Regions from separate parts of the Homo sapiens genome. Here region 2 is linked to region 1. The links are contacts of gene promoters, found by promoter capture Hi-C in blood cells and fetal thymus (Javierre and others, 2016). All regions are on one chromosome and are shown on one strand. The core of a region is centred on a gene start or on the middle of the fragment in contact, and the rest is flanking DNA. Distances in the headings are between cores, read along the strand shown. Region 1 holds the start of RAB3GAP2 (RAB3 GTPase activating non-catalytic protein subunit 2). Region 2 holds the start of RPS6KC1 (ribosomal protein S6 kinase C1).

Region 1 (5,755 bases), core at 1,242-3,741:
TCACAGCCAAGCTCCTTGAAATAGTATATTTCACTTTTTAACCCCTTATCCTATAACTATGCTTTCTGCCTCCACTATCCTACTGAAACTGTCCTAAGGTCCAAGTTACCTCCACCTTCTCAAAACCAATAAGCATTTTTCTATCCTTTTCTTACCTGACCCCTGCTGCATTTGCAAAACTGCTGACCATTCCTCACCCTCATCAAGTTCTCGCCTTCCTCAGCTCCGAGGGCCTTACTCTCACATGATTTTCCTCTTTCTTTTACTCCTTCTCAGTCTTCTTCCCAGTAACCTCTACTTGACTTTTAAACACCAGTGCTCCTCTAAGCTTACAGCTTTAGTACTCAGTGCATTTCACAACATACATAATCCTTGAGACTGAACTGACACTTTTTGCTGTTAGCTCCCCAATTAACATCTCTGGCCCAGTACTCCCTACTGTTTAGACTATCTATATCTGGTGTTCAACCAGATGTCCTTACTTGGACATACCATAAACATTTAAAATGCAAAAGGTTGAAAATCTGTATCCTTCATTCTCTTATTACATATAGTTGCCCAAACCACAAGCCAAAGACTTCCTAAACTCCCCCTCACTTACTAGTTACAATGCCCATCACCAGACCTTCACAAGGTCCTGCAGATTCTAACTCCTTAACGTCTTTCTAATCTAGTCCTTCATCTTCATCCTACTAAGGTTCTTAATTCAAGCTCACATAATTTCTTGCTTGGATTACTGGAAGAGCTTCCCAATCCATTTCCCTTCTTCCAATCTCTCCTCCACTTTGCTACCAGAGCACATTACAGGTCTTCAACAAATGTTGTTGATTACATTAAGTACAAATCTGACAATGTCATTTCTCTACTTAAACTTTCAGAGAAACGCCACAATTTTCACAAGGCCTCTCATGGTCTAGCTCCTTATTACTACTACTGCCTCATTGCCCCAACTCTTCCTCTCCCATCCTCCTCTCCAGCCATTCAGCTTTTCTTAGTTCTCTAAATACCATGCCATTTCAGGCCTCCCTTCCTCTGCACATGCTATTACTGCTCCTTTACTCCTCTAACTAGTACTTCAAAGGTAGGCTTAAGTATCACCACTTCAAGAAAATGCCTCATGTATATCTCAGTCACACTGAATGGAAGTTAATGATTTGTCTGTAAACCAGAAGTTCCTACAGCAGGGTCCACCAACCTTATTTGGTTTGTAGCACCAATGACTGGCACAAAGTATGCAATCATTCACAGATGGGTTCGATTTGATATCTTCTAAATTTTCTAAAAAAGGGAGAGGAGCTTAGTGGGCTTTATATCACCATTCCGGTATAGCACAAAGTGAGAGCGCTGTACTACAAAGCCAAATGTGCTTCAGGTTGGAAATGCAAAAATAAAATAAAATAAAATAAAATAAAATAAAACACAAGGCACACCCTTTCAAAATGAAATGTACGAAATTCTGAAAGCCTATATAGTATCTAATAAACCAGCCTTGGAACTTTATACTACTTGGGGAAAGGCTTATTAAACACTTTGATGATAAAAATAGGTGGAAGGCTTCAATAAAGCAAATTAACCTTTCTTGGCTATGTCACTGTAATTTTAGTTCCTAATGTAGATTCTCGTTCACTTCCTGACAGGTTATTTTCCTTCTTTGAGAGAGTCTTACCTCAAGAGTCACTCATTTGTCAGCCATTTGTTCTCAAAATCTGAATGGGGGAAATGCAGATGAAAGAAGGGAGAGTGTGGGGGGATGATCAACACTTTCGGAATGGGAGGTAGCAGAAGGCCACAGTCTCCGGGATGGAAGAGAGTGGGAGCTGGGGCAATACCAGAGTGGAGCGCTGACATGTGGCAAGGAACGGGGAGGATGCGATCACGGAGCAGGCAACATGAAACAGGGAACGACCCCAGGCTGAAGATGGGAGACGGAGAAGATACTCAGAGAGAAAGCTAGGAATGTGTGGGGGTGGGGGGAGGGAGGGAGAAAGCGGTGATAGGCAGAGGCGAGAGGAAACAAGACGCAGTTTTTAGCCAGGGGTCAGAGGGCCTAAGGAGAAAAGCTGGGTCGAGAGGAAGACAACACAAATGGGGCTTCAGGACGAGGTGGGCAGGGTGTCATCCCGGAGCGGAGGGGAGGCACGGGGAGAACTGGGGGTCCAGAGGGCAGAGGCAGGAGGCGCAGAGCGAGTAGGAGACTCGAACCCGTGAGCAGAGGCCGCGGGTGACGAGGGAAGGAAGGGCGAGGCCAGAGAGGCACTTACTGGGGTCCCTCCGCAAGGCGCCGCTGAGGATCTCCTCCCGCAGGTGAGGAAAGAGGAAGTCCCGGGCGGCCTGGAGGTCCTGGAAGTAGCAGAACTGGACAATGGAGCAGGCCATGGCTCCAGGGAACCCCACTACGGCACTCACCTTACCTCACCACGCCCTGCCCCCTCCACCCCACTGCGGCCGCCACCGAGCCCCAATAGCTCTAGCCAAGCAGAAGGCGGAGAAACCAAACCGGAAGCTGTCACTGACACGGGTCCGCTGTCTCCGAGTACTGCGCAGGCGCAGGCTGGCCCAGGCGCCTAGGGCGCGGGGGCCCGGGTCACGTGACTACGGCGCCGCCGCTGCAGGTGGAGCCAAAGTCGACGTGGAGGCTTGGGGCAGATTTTTCAGTCCCAGTTGTGTGTCTACGCCGAGGCATGAACCCTTTCATTCATTCTGGCTTTTAGCCAGAGGTGTTCTAATTGGACTTGTCCGCGCAGCCCTTTGACTTATTCAGTCTTATTGGTCCCCTACTATTGGCACGATCCTGATGTTTCACAGAAACTAATTCGTTTTAAACTAGTGGCAGGCCAGTGGGGGACCGTATCCTGCAAGAGTCGGATTTTGAAAAGATTAATTGCTCTTCCGGAGATTAGCCCCGTCAAGGCTGGCTTTAAATGCTCCTACTATAGATTCCCATAGTACTACGCAAGCCCAATATAGTACGTGTTATAGTGTATTATACACTTTTGTTTTCATTATTCATTTGGTTTTTCATTCATGCATTCATCCATCCATTCAACAAATATTTGTTAGTCTTTTAAATGCCAGCCACGCAGGGTGCTGAGCATTAGAGAACAAAAGAGAAGAAGTACCTTTTCCCAGAAAGCTGGAATTCTAGTGACTGATACAGGCAGTAAGCAATTAATTACAGTATTTCCCTTTAATCCAAGGGGATATGTTTTAAGATCCCCAGTGGATGACTCAAACCATGGATAGTACTGAAACCTATGTATGTGTATTATGTTTTTACCTATACATATATATGATAAAGTTAAATTTATAAATTAGGCACAGTGAAAGATTAACAATAACTAATAATTAAATTGAATAATTATGTGGAAAATGAACCCATGGATAAAGGGGGGACTACTGTACTTAACTATTTAACTGAAATTGTGATCATGCTAGTAAGTGCTTCATAAATATTTGCTGAAGAAATAAATGGAATGCATACATAAAGTAAATAGAATAACTTGTTTCTTTGACAAAGCACTATTTTTGAAAGTACTTTACATTGTTCATTTGGATAGTCACAAATGCCATCTAAAAATAGTGTGTCTTATCCCATTTTTAAAATAAAGAAATTGAGCTGTCTCTGAGCAGACTTTAAGTTATTTTTCCAAAAAATAAAAACAAAAAAAATTATTTTAATGTGAGCACAAAGGCCTGTAGGCACTTACACATTTCCTAAAGGAAACCTAAAGAGGCCATCCACTTTGTATGAAAAAAGGGCACAGGAACAAATGAAAGGCAAGTGGATGGGGTCCAGAGCATTCATTTCTGTCAGGCCCGTGGACATACACACTTAGTCCTAATAATATAACAACTATAATTTAGTGCCCAGGTTCCTACTCCATTATTTCCTACTTCTAGAGTAGGATGATTTTCACAAAATAGGATAGGCAATTTCTATGTTATCAGGTTAACAGGAATCAGTTCTTCACCTATAAAAGGCAGTTGAATCAGATGTGCTGTAAGGTCCCTTTAAGCATCAGGGACCTATACTTCTGTAATCAAAGCTTTCAGAAAAAGCAAGCTGCCAGTGCTCCCTTCTTCCATCTGAAGAAATGCAGTGTTTCCTCAGATCATCACTAACTAGAATAATCCAGCCCTGATAAGATTATTCCCTAAAATCCAGCACCAATCCCAAACTAAACCAAAATTTAAATTTAGATTCTTAGTGTTACTGGACGAATAACAAACACATGACACTTTCTGGAAGGAGACTGTCATTCCTTGAAAACCATTCAAGTTCCTATTCAGGTAAATGCATTTTGTGGAAGTAACTGCTGTTGGCTGATTTTGCTGGCCTTTGTTCTTCCCTGAGGCATTCATATGTCTCCTGTGGTGGTCATTGAATTTCATTACTGTGTTGGCTCAGTTTTAATGGTGAAGTCCCTGACTTCCTTCCAAGTACTGTTGAAAAGGATCATTCATGGATGTTTTTAAGGACTTTAGATACCCTTCACAGAAATTACAACACATTCATGAACTGAACTCTTCCCCCAGGAAGTTGTAATGCAACAGGGGGGGATGCCTCTGGAGTTCTGCTACCATGGTTTCTGCGGCATGTGGGAGGATTGCATCAGACAGTGAATATCACTTATTCCACAGTCATAAGAAAGCACATTGCAAAAATGTGCAGGCCTTACATATCCCAGCATTGACAGTGTCTCTCCGAGGTCTGGGTTCAGGAGGTAGGAAAAGCACTGTGACCAAAATAACAACAGGATGAGTCCAGGTACCAATGTGAACTTCCTCCAGTATCCATTAGTGTGAGTCAGAGCACAGATGACTGTTGTTAAGAGAGAGATGTGTTACTGAGGAAGATAAGCAGCAGCCCCTTGCCAATCCTTAGCAGCAGCTTGAAGCGAAGGGGTTGAGTTGCAGGATGGGCACTAAACGCAGATGTGAGAGAAAGAGCAATGGACTTGGAATCATGACTTTGGGGAATTCATGTCACTTTTTTGGGACTTAGTTTCTTGGTTTATAAAATGAAGAGGCTGGGCTCTAAAGTTCATCCCAGGGATATGTAGGTTTTGGTAAGAGACTGGGAATGGCAAGTTCTGGGAGCTGGAATTGCTTAGAAGGAGTGGTCTGTGTAAGCACCCTAGTAAGAAGCTTGGGTCAGCAGGAGAAAATGTGAGGGTACTGGACATCTCTAAGGGAAAGTAAGGGGAGCATAGCAAGGGCGTGGAGAGTCCTTGAAGCCTTACCTCATAGCTGTGCTAAGGGTCATCCTTGAATTGAAGATTGAGCAGAAGCAAGGGCTATTTACAGTTATTATTCAACAAACATTTATGGAGTGCTTTTTACATTAAAGATACTGTAGTAAGCACAGTAAGGCAATAAGGACAAGTGATCCAGAGATTCACTACTTAAAAGCAGACAAACACAAATGCTCTAAGAGCAGAGTGTGATGAGTACCATGGATGGCTTTTGGATAAAGGGCAGTGGGAGAAATAAGGGAGAGATTAATTTAGATCCCTAGGGGTGTCCCTTGGAAAAGAAGTAGTGTGGAAGAGGTAGGAAAGGCATTAAACAAATTGGTTCTTGATTATAGAGAACCTCAAAATCCAAATAGTGAAACCGCCTTTGCAAAATTATGACTGAGATAGTGAAAGAGATGTAACTTAACCGACTCCATCTTGCTTCTAACCTCCAAGCTGTCCTTGTTCATTCTTGGGCGTAAGTTGAACTAACTTTGAGAGAAACTTAGTTTACAGTT
Region 2 (5,755 bases), core at 1,157-3,656, 7.2 Mb before region 1:
TGTCGCCCAGGCTGGAGTGCAGTGGCGTGATCTCAATTCACTGCAACCTCCGCCTCCCAGGTTCAAGCAATTCTCCTGCCTCAGTCTCCCGAATAGCTGGGACTACAAGTGCCCACCACCACACCCGGCTAATTTTTTGACTATTTAGTAGAGACGAGGTTTTACCATGTTGGCCAGGCTGGTCTCAAACTCCTGACCTCGTGATCCGCCCGCCTCCGCCTCCCCAAGTGTTGGGATTACAGGTATGAGCCACCACGCCCAGCTGAGATTCAGCCTATTTTCTTAAATAAGTGTTCCTGGGTTGCTGTAAGCTTTTGGTTAGTTTCCAGAGTTCTGAAAGAGTTAATACTGAGAGTTTTTGTTAGTTTTTTCATAGTTTATGTGGAGCAGTGAACTTTTGGAGTTCCCCCTAACAAAGAATCAGTTTTTGGTTTCATTGGTTTTTCTTTATTGCTTTTCTCTTTTTCTATTTCATTGTTTTTCTCTTTTTAAAAAAATTTCATTGAGTTATTACTCTTTTCTTTATGTTTTATTCCTTATTCTTGCTCTAGGGTTCAATATTTTTTTTTCTAGCTTCTTAAAGTAGAAGCTTAGTTCATGACCCTTCTTCTTGTCTACTATAAGCCATCAAGGTTATACATTTCCCTCTAAGCACTGCATTAGCTGTGTCCCACACATTATGATATGCTTCCATTTTCATTCAATTCCAAATATGTTTAAAAGTTTTTGTCACTTATTTTTGATCCAGGCATCTTTAAGAATTGTATTTACTTTCCAAATATTCATGAATTTTATGGGTAACTTTCTATTATTAACTTCTAGTTTAATTCCCTGAGGTCACAGAGCAAATCCAATTTATATTGGTTTTAAAAATTTTGTTAACATTTATTTATTTATTTATTGAGACGGAGTTTCGCTCTTGTTGCCCAGGCTGGAGTGCAATGGTGCGATCTCAGCCCACTGCAACCTCCGCCTCCCGGGTTCAAGTGATTCTCCTGCCTCAGCCTCCTGAGTAGCTGGGATTACAGGCATGTGCCACCATGCCTGGCTAATTTTGTATTTTTAGTAGAGACAGGGTTTTTCTACATTGGTCAGACTGGTCTCCAACTCCCAACCTCAGGCTATCTGCCCACCTTGGCCTCCCAAAGTGCTGAGATTACAGGCATAAGCCACTGCGCCCAGCCTGTTAACATTTATTTTATAGCCCAGGATATGGCCTGACTTGTTGAATGTTTTCTGTACACTTGAAACAAACATTTTCTGCTACTATTGAGTGGCGTGTTCTATAAATGTCTATCAGGTAGAGTTGGTTGATAGAGCTTTTCAGGTTTTCTGTATCCTTATTCATTTATTTGTTTACATGTTTTGTCAATTACCGAGAGAGGAGCGTTGAAATCTTTTTTGTTTTTTTTGAGACAGATTCTTGCTCTATTGCCCACGCTAGAGTGCAGTTGCATGATCTTGGCTCACTGCAACCTCCACCTCCCTGGTTCAAGTGATTCTTGTGCTTCAGCCTCCCAAGTGACTGGGGTTACAGGAATGTGCCACCACGCCGGCTAATTTTTGTATTTTTAGTAGAGATGAGGTTTTGCCATGTTGGCCAGGCTGGTCTTGAACTCCTGGCCTCAAGTGATCTACCCACTTCAGCCTTCTAAAGTGCTAGGATTACAGGCATGTGCCACCATGCCAGGCCTGAGTGTTGAAATTTTAACTATAATTGTGGATTTGTCTATTTCTTCTTTTAGTTCTAATCGTTTTTGCTTTTTACATTTTTAGTTTTGTTATTAGGTATATACACATTTAGAATTGCTCTGTCTTCTTTATGAATTGAATTCTTTAAGTTTTGTCCTTCTTTATTCCTGATCATATTTCTTTGTCTTAAGTATTTCTAGTAGTGTTTTCGTGGCACATGTTTTTCCACTTTTTAAATTTTTAATCAATAATATCTGGTAAATCAAAGAAACTCAGAGAACATGGAGAGGAAGTTGCTAAGGATGATATCAAATAGCTAACTAATGTAATTAAATGGAGAGTAAAACCAGTCATGGAGATAGAAATAGGTATATGAGGGGAAAAAATGTTGAGATTTTGATTTGTTCTGTTTCCAGTGTTAGATATATAATAAAGATGTAGGTAAAGTGAGTCAAGTCCTGGAAGAGAGATATGCTGGGAGATAGACATTTGCAAGTCAATGGGAATAAAGAACAAAGGATCAAAGGCAAAATCTTGAGAAACAAGAATACTAAAAGTTCTTGGAAGGAATAGAAACCAGCAAAGGAGACTGAAAAAAGAGCAAGTCATCTGAGTATAAAAGAGAAAAGAGAAATAATGCTGACTCATATGCTAAGAATATACAAAAGTTTTAAAAAGGTAGAAATGGTCAGAGACTTTCAAAATCCAGAAATATTGGGCAAATTGAGGTCACTGGAAACTGTTTTCAGAGCAGTTTCAGAGTAGCAATATAGAGGTGAAACCAGATTGAATTGGACATGGGAATAAATGGGTGATGATGCAATGTTGATGTAGATTACTTTAAAATCAACTTAAACAACTTTGACGGTGAGTGGAAGGAGAAAGAAAGGAAGAAAAGAAGGCAAAATGAATAATGCCCTTTACTCCCTTCTCTCCTGGCTAACTCCCATCTCTCTTCCAAGACTCAGTCTTCTATCAGAAAGCCTTAGGCGATCTTCCATCCTGAATTGATGTGCTCTTTAGTACTCCATATATACATTCACCATGGTACTTATCACAGTATATTTTGTGTCTTTATTTTTCCTACTAGATGGTACTTGAGAACAGGGACTATCTACCTTTTTTTTTTTTTTTTTTTTTTTGAGAGAAGTCTTGCTCTTGTCCCCCAGGCTGAAGTGCAATGGTGCGATCTTGGCTCACCGAAACCTCCACCTCCCGGGTTCAAACGACTCTTTTGCCTCAGCCTCCCAAGTAGCTGGGATTGCAGGCGCCTGCCACCACGCCTGGCTAATTTTTTGTATTTTTAGTAGAGACGGGGTTTCACCATGTTGGCCAGGCTGGTCTCGAACTCCTGACCTGAGGTAATCCGCCCGCCTCGGCCTCCCAAAGTGTTGGGATTACAGGCGTGAGCCACCGCGCCCGGTCGGAGAACAGGGACTATCTTTGTAACTCCAATGCCAAATTGGCATCATGTCTGGCACATAGTAGGTGGTGAATTCAGGTTTAATGAATGACTAATAGACTTAGATATATGTAGGTTGAAAAGAAGGAGCCAGTGGTGAGAAAGAGATTAAACATACAGAAAGGAGATTTGGAATGTCATTGAAACAGTGTCTTAAGGTTTGCCAAAGAGGATGGGATTCAGATCACATGTGGAGTCATTAGCTGTAAAAATGAGCAAGTGATATGTGTACGTTTCAGACTGGCATGGAAATGTGAGAAGACAAAGGAATTGGTACTAAGGGCCATAGCTGCTTCTTCCTCTTCTTTTTTCCCTGTAAAGAAGAGTGGTGGTGCGGAGAGTAGGGAGGCAAAAGGAAGAGGAACAGAGTCTTTAGGATAATGGCAAAGACTTGGCATGAATATTTTGTGGAATGAAAAGGAACCTTGATCACAAAAAGATAAAGGAACTGCCAAGCGTTGATAACAACCTCAGCTGAAATTGGAAACTGTAGTGAGTGACTCGGAGAGGTCGAGTGACATATTTCTTTCTTCTAGCCAGAGGCGGACTCCAGATTTTCGAACCTGTGGGGATTTTTAAAAGATTGATATTGGCTTGGGAGCTTTTTTGGGTTGGGGGCTTGCTGTGCAGATGTGTTACAGAAAGGCGCTCAATGGAAGGAAATTCGTCTTAGAAAGAAGTAAGGGATATGTCTCAGAGAATGAGATGTTGCTGTGGGTATTTAAAATGATAGGCTGTGAATAGGTAAGGAAAGAAGGTGCTAGGCTATGGTATCTCTCCATCCCTTCAACACTCCACTTAAGTTTGTACCACGGCGGGGCGGAGGCAGGGAGGACCACGCTCTCCCGGTGTGGCGTGGCTATACCAACTCTCATAAAATCTCATAAAAGGTGACGGAGCTAGCGTACAAGAGGTCGTCTTTAGTGGAGAGGCCTGAGGTCTCCGCAGTGACGGGGGTGGCAGCGCGACCCCTTAGTCTTCAACTACAGGCCAGTCCCAGGTGCCCCAAAGGGGCTAGAATCTAAGGAGGAGTCTCCCCTCCCCCTAGAAGCGGGAGATAGCCTGGCCCGGAAGCTTCTCTGCTGACCCGGAAGCAGAGCTGTGCAGCTGAGGCGCCGCCGTGGAGCCGCCTTGGAGCCACCGCCCCCTCGCCGCTTCGCCGCTGCGTTGGGGAACCTGGACCGCGGCGGCGCCGGGTTTCCCTCATGATCCCGGGCGGGTGGCGGCGGCGGCAGAGGCGGCGGGAGGATGACCTCTTACCGGGAGCGGAGTGCCGACCTGGCCCGTTTCTACACTGTCACCGAGCCCCAGCGACACCCGAGGGGCTACACAGTATATAAGGTCACCGCCCGGGTGAGTGCCGGTGTCGGGCTGGGGTAGAGCTTGGATTGGGACCTGAGGATCTGGGGTGGGGACCCTGATGTGAGGGTACCTGACTCTGGCTCAGAGCCGAGGGTGGGACTGGGTGCTGCTCCTACTGGCGGGACTTGGGTGTCGGAGGTTGGGATTTTTAGAGTAGTGGCTGAGTGTGATATGCCCAGGGCTTCACTGTAGTAGGTCGTGGTAGAGTCCTCTTTCTGGGGGTGGGGCAGTCAGTGGTTGATGGTTTTAAATTGATGACTCAGTTCCCATCCCGTTTGGACTTTCTCTTCTGAGTTCGCAATTTGCAGAAGTGGTTTTGCTTGCTCCAGGAAGATAATGCAGATTAAAAAGTGTTAATTTATGTATTGTTTGGCTTATGTAATATAAGTTGTTTTTTCTCTTGACCTTTATCAGGTTTGCTGTGAGAAAGACAGATTCTTGGGACAGATGTCAGTGTTAGGCCACCAACCTAGGAACTGTGGATCCGGGCTTTGTCAAACCTTTGAGTTTTTCATGTTTTTCAGTAGGAGACGTGAAAAAAATCTGCTGAGGGTGGCTTGTGTGAGCTACCATGAGGGCACATTTTAAAGTTGGGAGGCTCCTTTACATCAACTAACTGGTCCAATTTTTAGTACCCACTTTATGTTTCATTGCTTTTGCCTTGAGTTTTAAAGAGAGTCTGCATCTTCTAGGAAAGTAAGAATAAATCAAAATTAAATAAGTATATATGTATGTGACGTATGTGTGCATGAATATATGTGTATAGTAGGCATTTTATGCACATCACCCAATTTAATTCTCATTTTAATGAGGAAGAAATAGATTAAAGCAAGTTTAGTAACTTGCCCAACTTTACATTGCAAGGCAGTAGCAGATCTGTCTGGGATCTGAAACCAGTTTTGCCTAACTCCAAGTTATATAAAATGTTAATAATTAACTTTATCAATTTTTAAAGAAGAGAGGTACAGATTAAGTAACAGTAGTTCAATATACATTTGGAGGATGTAAAGCAGGCCTTCAGAATAATTTTTTTTTTTTTGAGACGGAGTTTCGCTCTTGTTGCCCAGGCTGGAGTGCAATGGCATGATCTCTGCTCACCGCAACCTCTGCCTCCTGAGTTCAAGCGATTCTCCTACCTCAGCCTCCCGAGTAGCTGGGATTACAGGCATGTGCTACCATGCCCTGATAATTTTTTGTATTTTTAGTAGAGATGGGGTTTCTGCATGTTGCTCAGGCTCA

Evidence for each region. The method cuts DNA at HindIII sites, captures the fragments that hold promoters and counts their contacts. A CHiCAGO score of 5 or more calls a contact.
Region 2: a contact is called between a fragment that was not itself captured here and the fragment with the promoter of RAB3GAP2 in region 1, in 1 of 17 cell types (non-activated CD4 T cells). The highest score is 10.0, in non-activated CD4 T cells.

The regions. Positions count from the first base shown.
Region 1 is chr1:220,269,962-220,275,716 of GRCh38, forward strand. It overlaps RAB3GAP2 (RAB3 GTPase activating non-catalytic protein subunit 2), which reads right to left and starts at 2,492. Exons shown (of 35, transcript NM_012414.4): 1 at 2,262-2,492. The coding sequence starts at 2,376. RefSeq lists an enhancer at 586-1,087. The HindIII fragment of the contact is 3,718 bases long and covers 327-4,044 here.
Region 2 is chr1:213,047,003-213,052,757 of GRCh38, forward strand. It overlaps RPS6KC1 (ribosomal protein S6 kinase C1), which reads left to right and starts at 4,239. Exons shown (of 15, transcript NM_012424.6): 1 at 4,239-4,507. The coding sequence starts at 4,403. RefSeq lists a silencer at 4,368-4,467. The HindIII fragment of the contact is 3,639 bases long and covers 588-4,226 here.